Regions from separate parts of the Homo sapiens genome. Here all the other regions are linked to region 1. Evidence: promoter capture Hi-C in human tissues and cell types (Jung and others, 2019). All regions are on one chromosome and are shown on one strand. Each heading gives the region's core, a stretch centred on a gene start or on the middle of the fragment in contact. The rest is flanking DNA. Distances are from core to core; before and after follow the strand shown.

The links. The method cuts DNA at HindIII sites, captures the fragments that hold promoters and counts their contacts. A contact is called where the count stands out against the background at its distance.
Region 2: a contact is called between a fragment that was not itself captured here and the fragment with the promoter of CEP192 in region 1, in 1 of the 25 tissues and cell types used here (dorsolateral prefrontal cortex).
Region 3: a fragment that was not itself captured here is called in contact with the fragment with the promoter of CEP192 in region 1 in 1 of the 25 tissues and cell types used here (dorsolateral prefrontal cortex).
Region 4: a contact is called between a fragment that was not itself captured here and the fragment with the promoter of CEP192 in region 1, in 1 of the 25 tissues and cell types used here (dorsolateral prefrontal cortex).

What each region holds. Positions count from the first base shown.
Region 1 is chr18:12,989,809-12,992,989 of GRCh38, forward strand. CEP192 (centrosomal protein 192) reads left to right here and starts at 1,554. Exons shown (of 45, transcript NM_032142.4): 1 at 1,554-1,629. RefSeq lists enhancers at 1-485, 876-1,255 and a silencer at 1,736-1,815. The HindIII fragment of the contact is 10,836 bases long and covers 1-3,181 here.
Region 2 is chr18:13,600,071-13,603,251 of GRCh38, forward strand. The region is part of intron 4 of LDLRAD4 (low density lipoprotein receptor class A domain containing 4); the gene reads left to right. Among named protein-coding and RNA genes, the nearest start is that of MIR4526, 9.5 kb to the right of the region's middle. The HindIII fragment of the contact is 8,354 bases long and covers 1-3,181 here.
Region 3 is chr18:13,582,757-13,585,937 of GRCh38, forward strand. The region is part of intron 4 of LDLRAD4 (low density lipoprotein receptor class A domain containing 4); the gene reads left to right. Among named protein-coding and RNA genes, the nearest start is that of MIR4526, 27 kb to the right of the region's middle. The HindIII fragment of the contact is 4,344 bases long and covers 1-3,181 here.
Region 4 is chr18:13,532,807-13,535,987 of GRCh38, forward strand. The region is part of intron 4 of LDLRAD4 (low density lipoprotein receptor class A domain containing 4); the gene reads left to right. Among named protein-coding and RNA genes, the nearest start is that of LDLRAD4-AS3, 63 kb to the left of the region's middle. The HindIII fragment of the contact is 4,596 bases long and covers 1-3,181 here.

The sequences.
Region 1 (3,181 bases), core at 304-2,803:
TTAAGAGAGGTCAGCTCTAGGGCTGAGCATTTGGCTTACTTTTTTGGGATTCAGAAAATCTTGAGATTTTCTGCATTTATCTTTGCTCACTGAGTGTGGACAAAGGTAGAATAAAGGTAATTACTCTTTGCAAATACCAAGGCTGCAGGGTTCCAAGAAGAGGTGTCGAACTGTGGAGATATCACTGAGTTTGACAATTAGGAGTCTATTCCTGATAAAGTTTTAAGGACCCAGCTAGACACCATGAAATGCGTCAAAATAAGGTGTAAAAAGTGGAAGCCTGGCTTCCTCTATGGAAAAAAAAGTGGAGACCATTAAGGGAAGGAAACAAGAATGGTCATTAGGTGATGAAACAGAATCAAGGAAGGGGTGTGTGTGGGTGTGTGGTTTGAGTGGTGTTTGTGTGTGGAGGGTGTGTGTGGTGTGTGGGTGATGTGTATGTGGGTGTGTGTTGTGTATGGATGTGTGTATACGTGTCACACACGTGTGTGTGGTGCATATGTGGGTGTGTGTGGTTTGTGGTGTGAGTGGTGTGTGTGGTGTATGGGTGTGTGGTGTGTGTGTTTGGGTAGAGAGGTGCTGCATTTTTGTAGGCAGAGAGAAGGAAACCAGTGGAGAGGATATCCAAGAATGACAGGTGAGCCATGTTTGCAGGAGGTAGAAAGTGGTCAAGTAAACAGACGTCTTTCCCCACCAAGTAACCTCAGGTCTAGGGACTTCTAAACTTTGCGTTTTCCCTCTTCTTTCCTCCAAGGTGCGCCGGACATCTTTCAGTAACTTGAACGAAGTTAAGGAGTTAGCTTTGGAAAAGAGGGACTCTTTTCCCTCTGTGACTATATGGAATAAATTTTGAGATAAGGGACCTTACTGAAAAAGACTGAGATACATTTTGAGTGAAAGGCATGGTCTCAGTGAAGTAGTTAAGGGCCTGTGCCGAGCAGATGGCGGTGATGGGTTTTGTGGCCTAAGAAGGATGGAGAAAAGTAGGAAGCAATCGAGACAAAGCCTACTCTGTCACAAAGAGGCGACTAGATGTGGCGAAATGTCATGAAACTTGGATCCCGAGGAATTAGCTGATTGAAGGTGAAACCTGACGCCTTTCAGCGCCTACCAACAGGAAAGGTCTGCATCTGCCCACGGAAGGACGAAACCTATCGGGGGGGATTTGTTGGCGGGGGATACTTCTTTGCGCATAGAGTGACTGGCGGTGCCCTGGAGACCCAAACTGAATAAAGTAAGCATTATTTTCAAATTCGCCAAGACCTTGAAGGCGGCGCCAACGGGAGCCGTCCCCCGGGTCCCACGCAGCGCAGAGCTCCATTTCCTCCTCCGGACTCGCAGGGCGCGCGGCTTCCTCGCTTCAAATCCAGGAACGCGCTGTCCCCACCAATCACCGGGCTTCTTCCCGCCCCATGTCTTCCCGCTGTCCAATCAAAAGCCAGCTCAGTCTCCTCCCCTTGCCTGGTGCCGCGAACAGACGTAAACCAGAGGCGGGCGCGGTACGGCCGTTCCGGGCTCCAGCCGGTGCGGGGGCCACGCGCACGCGCACTTGCAGTGCCCTGGGACACCTCTTCAGTCCGTGGACTTTCCCGCTGCACACTGCCCTCCGAAGTCGGGGACGCGGGCTCGGTGAGGGGGGACGCTGGTGCCTCGGCCTGCGCCTAGGCGGGAGGCAGACGCATGCACCTTTGGCCTACGTTTCGGCTGCCGGACCGACGGGACAGTGACGGTTGGGCCGGGTGGGGGCGCAGGCTGTGGGGCGGCCTCAGGGCGCGAGCAAGGGGACTGCCGCGCTTCCCGCGCCTCTGCGCCTGGCGCAGCCTCTGAGCTGAGCTCCGCCTGGTTGGGATTAATTGCACGCCTCTGTGTCATCGGGCTTTGGCCGGGCGTGATGAGACAGACTGTTAGGGGATCACGTCCTTCTTTCCTCCCCTCTTGTCTGGGGACTTCCACCTCTTGAGGGACAGGCCCTCTCCGTGCTACCCTCTGGAGTTTCTTGCAGTGTGCTTGTGAAGTGACCGGTGATGTTTCCTTTATGTGCCCTGTGATGGGCGGTTCTGTTCCTCCTTTTTGTTTAAAATTCTGACCCAGGAAGTAACCTTGTTAACTTAACTTAATGCCCTTGTCTTCCGTTTACTCACTTGATTTGGTTTCTGCTAGGTTGCGTTCATTTATTCCTAATAGTTTACCTACATTCCTTGCCTATGATTTCATTATCAACAGAACGTGAAATGAGACGAATGTTAATACACTCTACTTTTACTTTGCTGTTACTTTCAGAGTTTGTTTAGTAAAACATGAGGACCTCTTCAAGTCAGTCGTTTGGAGAACAGCTGTTTATATGACCATATTTCCATTTGCTCTTACTATTTTGAGGTCATTCGACTGGCGTTTTTACTGCTCCAAAATCAACTTTTTCTCCAAATTTCAGTTTTCTAGGCAAAAACGGCAAGCCTTGAACAATAATATACCAAATGCCTACCTAGTTTTAAAGTATATCTTAAAGTGCCAAGAGTAAATGATGAGTTTTGGGGAAGTTTGACTCGGCTTTGGGTTCCACGGCGTGTGCTTTTAAATGTGTTTAATTGTATACATAGACCTACGATTAATGACTATAGTCAGTAATCTTTTATGTACCTAGGAATGTAATTAGTGAGTCCAGATGTGAAATTTGAGGTCACTACTTTAAGGAAATAGCAAGAGAAATTGCAAATATAGCCACTCAGTTCAAATAGGATAGAAGAAAAATATTGTCTTCACTTGAGATGATGGAGGAGGGGTGGGTAATGCAATAATGTGAGAAATTAAAGGAAATTTCCTTTAGGAATGTGTTATGTCCATGAATGGTTTACAAGTGTAATCTTTTCTGGAGAAGAGACTAGGTATTAGGTTACATCTTGAGGAATCTTCCCGTGGGTTTTGTTACCTTTGCACCCTTAGCAAAGCTCTGTTGAAGCACTTAACACTATCGTAGTTGACAGGGATTGTCAGCTCCCTGAGGGGAGCTGCCTTATTTATCTTTGCATTCTTGGTGCCAAGTAGAGGGTTCTTCATGGTTTGTGTTTGATAATGAATGTTGCATGAATGACCTTTGCATAATTTCTGAGTTTTCTTTGGATTAGGCCCTTCTAAATAGGGACAACTGTTGAAGAGTTTTCTATAAATTTTAATAGTTTACATG
Region 2 (3,181 bases), core at 401-2,900, 610 kb after region 1:
CCTCCCAGGTAGCTGAAACTATAGGCACATACCACTATACCTGTAATTTTATTATACAATTTTTAATAATATGCTTGCCTCAAATGTTTTATTTAAAATATCTAGCATATCAGGCCTGTGATTTTTTGGATATTGTTACTTAGAAGTTAAATTTTTTAAAAAATGAATTAATTGAAGTCCAGTTTAAAATCAATATTAAATAAATAATAGAACATGTGGAGTGCAGGTATTTTAAGAATCCTTAGGGTGGGACTTGAAGGACTTGGACTGAAGTGTGCAAGACATTGATTTGGTCCTAGCAATGAAATGAGACATGTGAGGACTGCACAGCTGTGTGACTCAAGATGTCACTTTCAGCTAGCAGGACAGGTGGCACTAGACCCTGGGTCTCCTGACCAGCATCCAACTGCATCAAGAGTCACTAAAGCCAAAATGTTCCAGGCATAATGACAGCAGACAGAATCTGTAGCCTAAGACTTCCAGGGCATTCAGCTGGAGTCTGATCAAGGTTCGCCATTTGCTGTTTTGTCTGTTTGAGCTAAAAATCACCAAGAAGACCATGTGTGACCAAATTGCCACCCTGCAGCCAACCTTTGCCAGGATTTCTGCCTCTCAGAGGATGAATGGTGATAGACTGGTTTGGAAAATTTTTCTGTAAGGTATATTATAGGAAACAAAATTGTAAAGGTATTTGCAGTATTACCATTTCTAAGCTTGTAAATTTTTTTAAAATTACTTTTATTTGTATAACCAAAATTAGATGGGTTTCTGCCAGAGTAGCATTCCTTCTATGAGGACTCTACATTTTTATTATTAACACTCTATTTTACTGTATTTGCTTTCCTGCTGTGGGTATTTACTATGTTGAGAATAACAGACTTAATTAAGGTCATTTTTAATCAAAACAAGACCATGTTTCTCCTTATCTGCATAAAAGGCACTATCAGGCCTTTAGGGAGGATGGGCACCTGTTCTCCTAACCCTTTGGCTTCTGTCCATTTCATGGTGGCAAGGTGTCATCATAAAGTCCAGTCGATCCATCTCCATTATCTCTGGTTAACCAGGGGCCTCACATTCACAGCTAAGTTTGTCATGTTTCCATTTGTCAGCCCTGTAGAAATATTTTAAACGCAGAAATCTGATGTTATAATGCATTTAACAATGATCATTTATCCAAAATCTATGAGGAATGTAAACAAATCAATGAGAATAAAACAAATAACCCCACTAAAAACTGGGCAAAGGACATGAACAAACACTTCTCAAAAGAAGACTTACAAGTGACCAACAAACATAGGAAAAAATGCTCAACATCACTAACCATAAGAGAAATGCAAATCAAAACCACAGTGACCACCTCACAGCAGTCAAAACAGCTATTATTAAAAAGACAAAAAATAACAGATATTGACGAGGCTGCAGAGAAAAGGGAACACTTCCGGGCATGGTGGCGGGCGCCTGTAGTCCCAGCTACTCGGGAGGCTGAGGCAGGAGAATGGCATGAACCCGGGAGGCGGAGCTTGCAGTGAGCCAAGATTGCGCCACGGCACTCCAGCCTGGGCGACAGAGTGAGACTCTGTCTGAAAAAAAAAAAAAGAAAAAAAAAGGAAAAGAAAAGGGAACACTTACACACTCTTGGTGGAAATGCAAGTTAGTTCAGCCACTATAGAATGCAGTTTGGAGATTTCTCAAAGAACTGAAAATAGAACTACCATTCCACCCAGCAATCCCACTACTGGATATATGCCCAAAGGAAAATAAATCAGTCTACCAAAAAGACACTTGCACCTGTATATTTATTGTAGCACTTGTTCACAATAGCAAAGACATGGAATCAACCTAGATGTCCATCCGTAGTGGATGAAGAAAATGTGGTACATATGCACCATGAAGTACTACACAGCTGTGAAAAAGAATGAAATCATGTCCTTTGCAGAAACATGGATGCAGCCGGAGGCCATTATTCTAAGTGAATTAATGCAGAAACAGAAAAAGTAAATATAAGTATTTTCTCACTTATACATGGAAGCTAAGCACTGGATACTCATGGACATAGAAATGGGAACAATAGAAACTGGGGACTCCAAAAGGAAGGAAGGAGAGAGGTGGGAAAGGGCTGAAAAACTTCCTATCGGGTATTATGCTCACTGTCTTGGAGACAAGATCAATAGAAGCACAAGCCCCAGCAGCATGCAGTATAACCTTGTATCAAACCTGCACATGTACCCCCGAACCTGATACTAAAAGTAAAAAAGAACTTGATCGTATCAGACAGTTTAGTAGGGGTTAGAATTTCAACCCAGGATATCTGACTGCAAATCCACATCCTTCCCAAAGCAGTATATTGGTTGCTTTGGGAATCATCATTGGTGGTGGGATGGGGGGAATTTTATCAGACATCATTCTTAAACCATGGCATTTAATTTTTTTTTTTTTTTTTTTTTTTGAGATGGAGTCTCACTCTGTCACCCAGGCTGGAGTGGAGTGGCACAATCTCAGCTCATTGCAACCTCCGCCTCCCGGGTTCAAGGAATTTCTAACTAATTTTTGTATTTTTAGTAGAGTCTGGGTTTCAACATATTGGCCAGGCTGGTCTCGAACTTCTGACCTTAAGTGATCTGCCCACCTTGGCCTCCCAAAGTGTTAAGATTACAGGTGTGAGCCACTGTGCCCGGCCTAATTTTTTATTTAAAAAATAAAAAGAAGAAAAACTAGAAATTAAAAAACAAATAAAAATTTGTCATTTCAGTACTTTTTCAAGTCACAAATAAGTAAAATATTGAACTAAGCAATCCCTCCAGGCACATCATGGCTTTCAGCATTGGAACAGGTTCCAAGGAATCCTATTGGAGAGGACATTTAATGGGAGGACATCGCTATATGTTTTCAGTCAGAAAGAAAAGAAAGGCTATGGACATAACAAATTTAAAACAGTGAAAAAGAAAAGTGTTGAGGGAGCTTTTATTCTAGAAAACTCTGATTTTTATAAATATTTAAGTTTTTAAAGTACCTTTTTATACTCTATTACAGAAGCAGAAACTTCGTCTTTTTAGGGCCCAAGATAAGGAAAAGGATAAAAGACAATAACCTTAAATTTCCAGAACACAGGTTTACTTTAACATAAAGGAAAATTGCCTGGTGGTACAGTTTGTTTCTAGGACCATCTTCCCTGAGGAGTGAA
Region 3 (3,181 bases), core at 350-2,849, 590 kb after region 1:
GGCTAGAGTACAGTTGCACGAGAATAGCTCACTGCAGCCTCGACCTCCCAGGCGCAAGCAAACTTCCTGCCTCAGCCTCCCAAGTAGCTAGGACTATAGGTGCATGCCGCTGTGCTGGCTAATTTTTAAATTTTACATTTTGTAGAGATGGGGTCTTGCTATGTTGCCCAGGCTTGTCTCCAACTCTGGCCTCAAGTGATCTTCCCACCTCAGCTTCCCAGTGTGCTGGGATTATAGGGGTGAGCCACCGCGTCTTGCTTGTATACTCATCTGAATCAAACCTTAATAGGTTTCCATGCTGAAGAGCTCTTTTTGGTCTCTGGGTCTTTTTGATTATTTCACCCGCACCATAAGACTGTGAATTATAGCTCTTATTTTAAAATTTATTTACTAGCCACAGTGGACTAGATGCTATCCAAAAAATTAGAAGCTTTTGTAATATTAGTACAAAATTATATATAAATACATGTAATTTAATATTTTAGTATTTCTTTTATATTCTCTCATTTTTTTCTAAAACACTGTGAAATTGTTAGGGCAATATTTGTAGTCTAAATCTGCAGATGACAAGGTGAGGTGGAGAGAGGATGGCTGACAGACTGGGGCGGCCTCCTGATGGCCACGTGTGTGGTGACTGACTTTTGTTACCGAGACCTAGGGGAGGGACGTGGTGGTCACGGCACCAACTTTGAGATGCCTAAGATCTAGTTAGTAGTACTAGAATGCATGGGATTGGGAACTTTAAATGAGTTGTAAAAAATAAGTGTTATTAGAGTTCCAAAAAGAAAGAAACGAGTTTGGCCGCTGAGATATTTAGAGGAACATAATATCACCACGTTCAACTGATAAATTAAATTTTAAGAAAGATTGATATTTGCCAAAAGATATGAAGTTAGAGTAAAAGAGGCTCGGTGGCTTGACCAGGGTGTGGTTTTCACTCTTTCATTCACTGACAAGTAGTGTTGGGGGGCCCGGCCGCGCCGAAGCCTGCTTGAGTCACCGAGCCAGGGCGCTGCGGCTCCCCACTGCTGGCGGAGTCTTATTGTTGTGTCTCTCGCTTTGCCTTTCACAGTTCTGGCATGGCAGGGCTTAATGAATGTCAGGCTCAGAGGGAAGAGAATGGAACCTGCGAGCACTTTCTGCCACTCACAGAGCGGGGTCACCTCGCCCTGCTCCCCCAGCTGCCTACAGGCCTGCCGTGCCCTTCCCATCTCCGCAGCCTCAGCCTGGCTTCCCTTGAGGACCACCACCGCCCTTAGCCCATCTCCCACACCCATCTTGCTGAGAGTGCAGGTGAGCCCGGCCCACCCGAAGCCACGTTGCCTCCCATCACCCTTCAGTGCTCTGGGGCCACAGGGGAAAGCCTGTGACCGGCGTCTGCCTCTGCCTGCCTTGGTCTCTTCATCGTCATAATGCCCTGGACTCCAATTGCTTAGGGTTGTCCCAGACACACTGTGCTCTGTCATCTCTTAACCTCTGCTTCATGACAGTCTTTCCCCCTGGAATCTTGTCCCCTCTTTCTGTCATCTGACTAATTATTACTTATCCCTTAAGACTCAGATGAGTGGCCACCTCCTACAGGAAGCCTTCTTCCACTCTCTCTTCTTCCCACTGCTTGGCGCTTCCTCTCCTCTCCTGAGCTGAGCTGTGATGATTCTGTGATAGCCCTGCCCAGCTGGTTTGTAGCTATCTGCTATCTGTCTCCTCTTCCTTCCCAGACACTTCCAGCTTGTCTGAGAACAGGAGCTCATCCGTGTTGTTCCCCTCGGTGACTAGCACTGCACCTGGCGCCCAGGAAGACTTAGCCAATGGAGGAATCATAGGATGGCTCGGTGGAGGGATGGCTACAAAACCTGTCTTTTCTCATACTCATTTCTTGTTAACTGTGCACAAATAATTCCATATTACCACTTCTTATTGTGCTTAATCCTAGGGTAAATTTAAGTTAAGAGTGTGCTGTGGGGAAGAAAGGCAAGTTGTCTGAAGATTATTCTGCAGTGAGAACTTTGGATCTGTCTCCTGATACACTGTAGAACCAGGATAAACCATAATTGTCCAAATCCTTCAGGGCTTTCCTTCCAAATGAAGTGATTAACTTCTGCGGTAAACTTCCTCTTGTCCAGGCTCCAGGCTTCGTGCTGGGCCTGACAGCACTCAAGCTTTGCTGCCCACGTAGGCAATTAGGGTGTCCTTATCCTTCGGTTCCACTGCCTGGTGAAATATTAGATAACGAGGACAGAGCTTATCTTACACGCGTCTGAGCTGACAAATATGGCAGCCTTTCAGCAAAAGGCAAATGCAGACGAGGCCTTTTCCCTGGCTGGAATAAGAATGAGCCTCATGCGTGTCTGGCCCCATTGCCGATGGTCAAATGCACTCGACATGATTTCCATAGCACCCAGACAGCCTGAGTAGCTCATATCTACCTGTCTAGTCAATACATCAGCTTTGCTGGGGAGAGAGCAGGAGTTTGTCACTGGGGCTCATTTCTAATGCATCAGGAACAAATCTGTTACTGGCTCTCTTTATTCTGGCATGAATACTGTAAGCTGCATGAATTTATCTTCGGTGATAAATAACAGTGCCTTCTGGGTTCTGTTTTTTTAAAGGGGTCTTTGCTAAGCCATTAATATTGAGGTGAAGAGAGAGGAGAAGAAATGGATTATGCCTGACCGTGGAGATTAGCAGCCTGCTCAGGTGAAGGGTGGCCACACTTATTAATGCACTAATGAGCAAGCAGGGTCATTCTGATGATTAGTAATTTTGGCAACATAACTTCTGCCCCAGATTTGATTAAGCCTTCATACAGACTTCCTCTTCCAGGAGATTATCTTTTCAAAGCACATTTGGTTTCCCACTCCCCCTTTCAAGCCCATTAGGAAAATTAAAGCATTTAATTTTAGTGATGAATTTTACTGATACAGACAACTGCTTTTCCAGATTTTCTCCAAATGTAAGCACAATTGCTACATCAACCAAAATACCTCTTACTGAACACAAACTGGCGTTGTGTGGAGATTGCTGATTCCTGGTAATATATTACAGAATAATAAGCTCTGTGTTGGAAAGAATATATATATTTCAATATTGAACCAAGCCAGGGGAGCAAATTAAATAGGAGAACTGAAAGTTAGCTAATATCTGCAAACTTACTTCCTCTTAAATGAACTTGTCCATCAAA
Region 4 (3,181 bases), core at 469-2,968, 540 kb after region 1:
TCCTTTGTGTTCCTGGGGTGTGATGGCATGCCTGGCCCTGCGCCTTCCGTCCTCCAGGCTCCCAAGCTGAGGGTCAGGGGCCCTGTCCTGGGCAGGGGCCGTGGAAGGAGCCCTTGGTCAGGAGCTTGGAGTAGCAATGTCGGGTTTTCTGAATGAGAAGCAAAACAACACTCGGGAAATGAGCCTCGTTTGGCTGGAAATAGTGTGCCAGTGTTTTCTTGCTTCGGGTTAGATACCAGTTAATTTACCCATTGTTTTTCATTAACTAATACATCAAATTTCTGAGCACCTACTGTGTGTCAGGGCTAAGGGATAAGCCAGCGACCAATAGACAAGGTCCCTGCCCCTCACAGCAACCATCTAGTGATGGGCTCAAGTCACAGGGCTTCTGTCTGAATAAACTTGTGTATCTCCACAAAGAGATGTTTTTGTTGCTGCAATGGATTTTTCATCTTGAAACCCCAGTCACTTTGATGTATTTCTGGTCCCCAACTACTGTCAAACATTTACTTTTTAACTCCTCATGACCACTTTGAAGAACCAGAAAGGGAAGATAAAGAAAATAACATTGCAATGAGCAGATCTTTGGACTAGAGCATTTTAAGGAGAAAGGGCTTAATTTTGAAGAAAGTCAAAATAGAATTAAGCATTTACACTTAGCTTATGATCCCAATTTTTTTCATATTCTTTGCATTAACCGTAACATTTTTCAGTGTGCCTGGCAAGAATTTGGTTTAAACATGTGGATTTGATTTAAATATAAATTGTACTTACAAACGGTACTCCAGTTGCCCATTACCATGGATGTTTTGGAAGTGATTATGTACTGAATCTTACCATGAAGCAGTAGTCCATGTATCTGAATTACATTTAGGCCTTTTAAAACATATCACATTATGTATATAGTTAGAAGGAGGGATGAGATGGGTATTTTTGAATTGAGTTTAATGGCTTACTTCAATAGGTGAATAAGGTTCTGCTCTGGGAATTAAAGGGACTTTTAAGTTTCTCTCTTGACTCTGATGTGCCTTTCACTGAACAGTAAAGGACCGGGGAGACTTGCCCAGCTCTCCTACTTGACAAAAGGTGAAATAGAATGATGCCATGAAATGCATCAATGTAAAATGCAGTTTTAAGATTGCATTTTAACTTGAGAGGGTCGTGAAGCTCTTGCCTTCCCATTAAGCCCCCAGGAATAATCTCCAGGTGTGTCTTCTGGCACTCCACGCTGCCTGCCTTCTGATGCTTCCTATGAATTGTTGGAACCAGCCATATCCTTCTCACTTCTGCCACAAAAACTCCTGGTGGTTTTGTACTTTGCCACCTTGTTTAGGTTTCATAGGCGATTGGTTCAAGGCAGTGCCTATCTGCACTTCCCTGTAACTCTCACTTTTTTTCTTTAATGTGGCCTGCATATGAATATATCAACACTTTTTAAATTAAAGGCTAATGAGCTCACTGCACAGCCTGAGTACGTTTGGTATTTGGCCTTCTTGGAGATGCTCTGCATGTGTCAAATGTTATTTTCAGAAAACTGGCTAAACTTTTAATGGGACCTGTTGTTAAATCACCCTGTGTTTCCCCCATAAACACGAATGTTAATTTACATTTTTAACCTAACTGAATGAGTTGTTTTTCTTAAATTCCTTTGCAGTTTGAAGGAACATACCTTGCAACAGGAAAGCTTTAAGAAAGAGGACGAAAAGGCTTTATAATCTTTCTTGAAGAGACCCTGTTGCTAAAAAGAAAAAAAAAAAGAAAGTCAAAATAAACACATAGAAGAGAGAGAGGCTGCATTTGTCTGGTGTGCCCTGTACTTTCTTATACTCATGTTTGATATTTGCTATCTATTGTGGGACATCTTTTTGTATGCTTTGCTGAGGTAGAATTCACATACTGTGAAAGTTACTCACTTTTGGTGAAGAGTTCGATGAATTTTGGTAACGACATACAGTTGCATAATCTACACCACAGTCACAGAACAGTCTTATCTCCCTGAAAAGTTGGCTCATGTTCCTTGATACCCAGTCCCCAGTCCCGACCCCAGGCTCCAGGCCACCTCGGACCTGCTGTCACTCTACTTTTTTCTCTTCTGGAATATAGTACAGTAGAAACATGCATTATGTCATCCTTGCAGTTTTGCTTCTTTCATTTAGGGTTATGTTTTTGAGACTCATCCATATAATGGTGTGTTTCCATGGTTCATTCTGTTGTACTGCTGAGTAGTGTTCTATGGTGTGGATGTACCCTACTCTGTTCATCCACTCATCCATTGACGGAACTGTTCATTGTTTCCAGTTTGGGGCTATTAGAAATAATATTTCTGTGAATATTCACATAGAAGTCTTTGTGTGGGCATATATTTTCATTTTTCTTTGTTAAATACCTGAGAGTTGACTGGCCGGGTTATATGTGTTTAATTTAATGGGTAACGCTATACTGGTTTTCAAAGTGGCTTTAACATTTTGTATTCCAGCCAGCAATGAATGGGGGTTCTGATTGAGCCACATTCTCATCAACACTTGATATTATCAGTCCTTTTACCTTTAGTCATTCTGGTGGTTGTGTAGTGCATCTTACTGTTGTTTGAATATGCATTTCCCTCATGACTAGTGATGTTGAGCATCTCTTTATGTCCCTCTTGCTTATCTGTGTCTTTACTTTTGTGATATGTTGTTTTAAATCTTTTGCACATTTTTTATTGGGTTGTCTATTGATTTGTAAGAAAACTATATATGTTTTGAATACAAACTTTTTGTTAGATATATATTTTCCGCAAATATTTTCTCCTAGTCTGTGGTTTGTTTTTTGTTTTTCTTAGCTGTTTTCAAAGATGAAGAGCTTTTTATTTGTATGAGGTCCATTTCATAATTTTTCTTATATAAATTGTGGATTTCATGTCCTGTTTAAGAAATCTTTGCCCAACCTAATGTCACAAAGATTTTCTCCCATGTTTTCTTCTATAAGTTTAACAGTTTCAGCTTTTATGTTTAGTTCTATGATCCTATCAAGTTAATTTGTGGATATGGTATGAGTTAAGAGTCAAGTTCACTTTTTGAAATAAAGATACAATTGTTTCAGCTCCATTTGGTGAAAAGGCCATCTTTTCCCCCATTGAATTACCCTAGTACCTTCATTAAACAATAAAGGACCGTATAACATTGAGTGTCTTTTTGGAGTC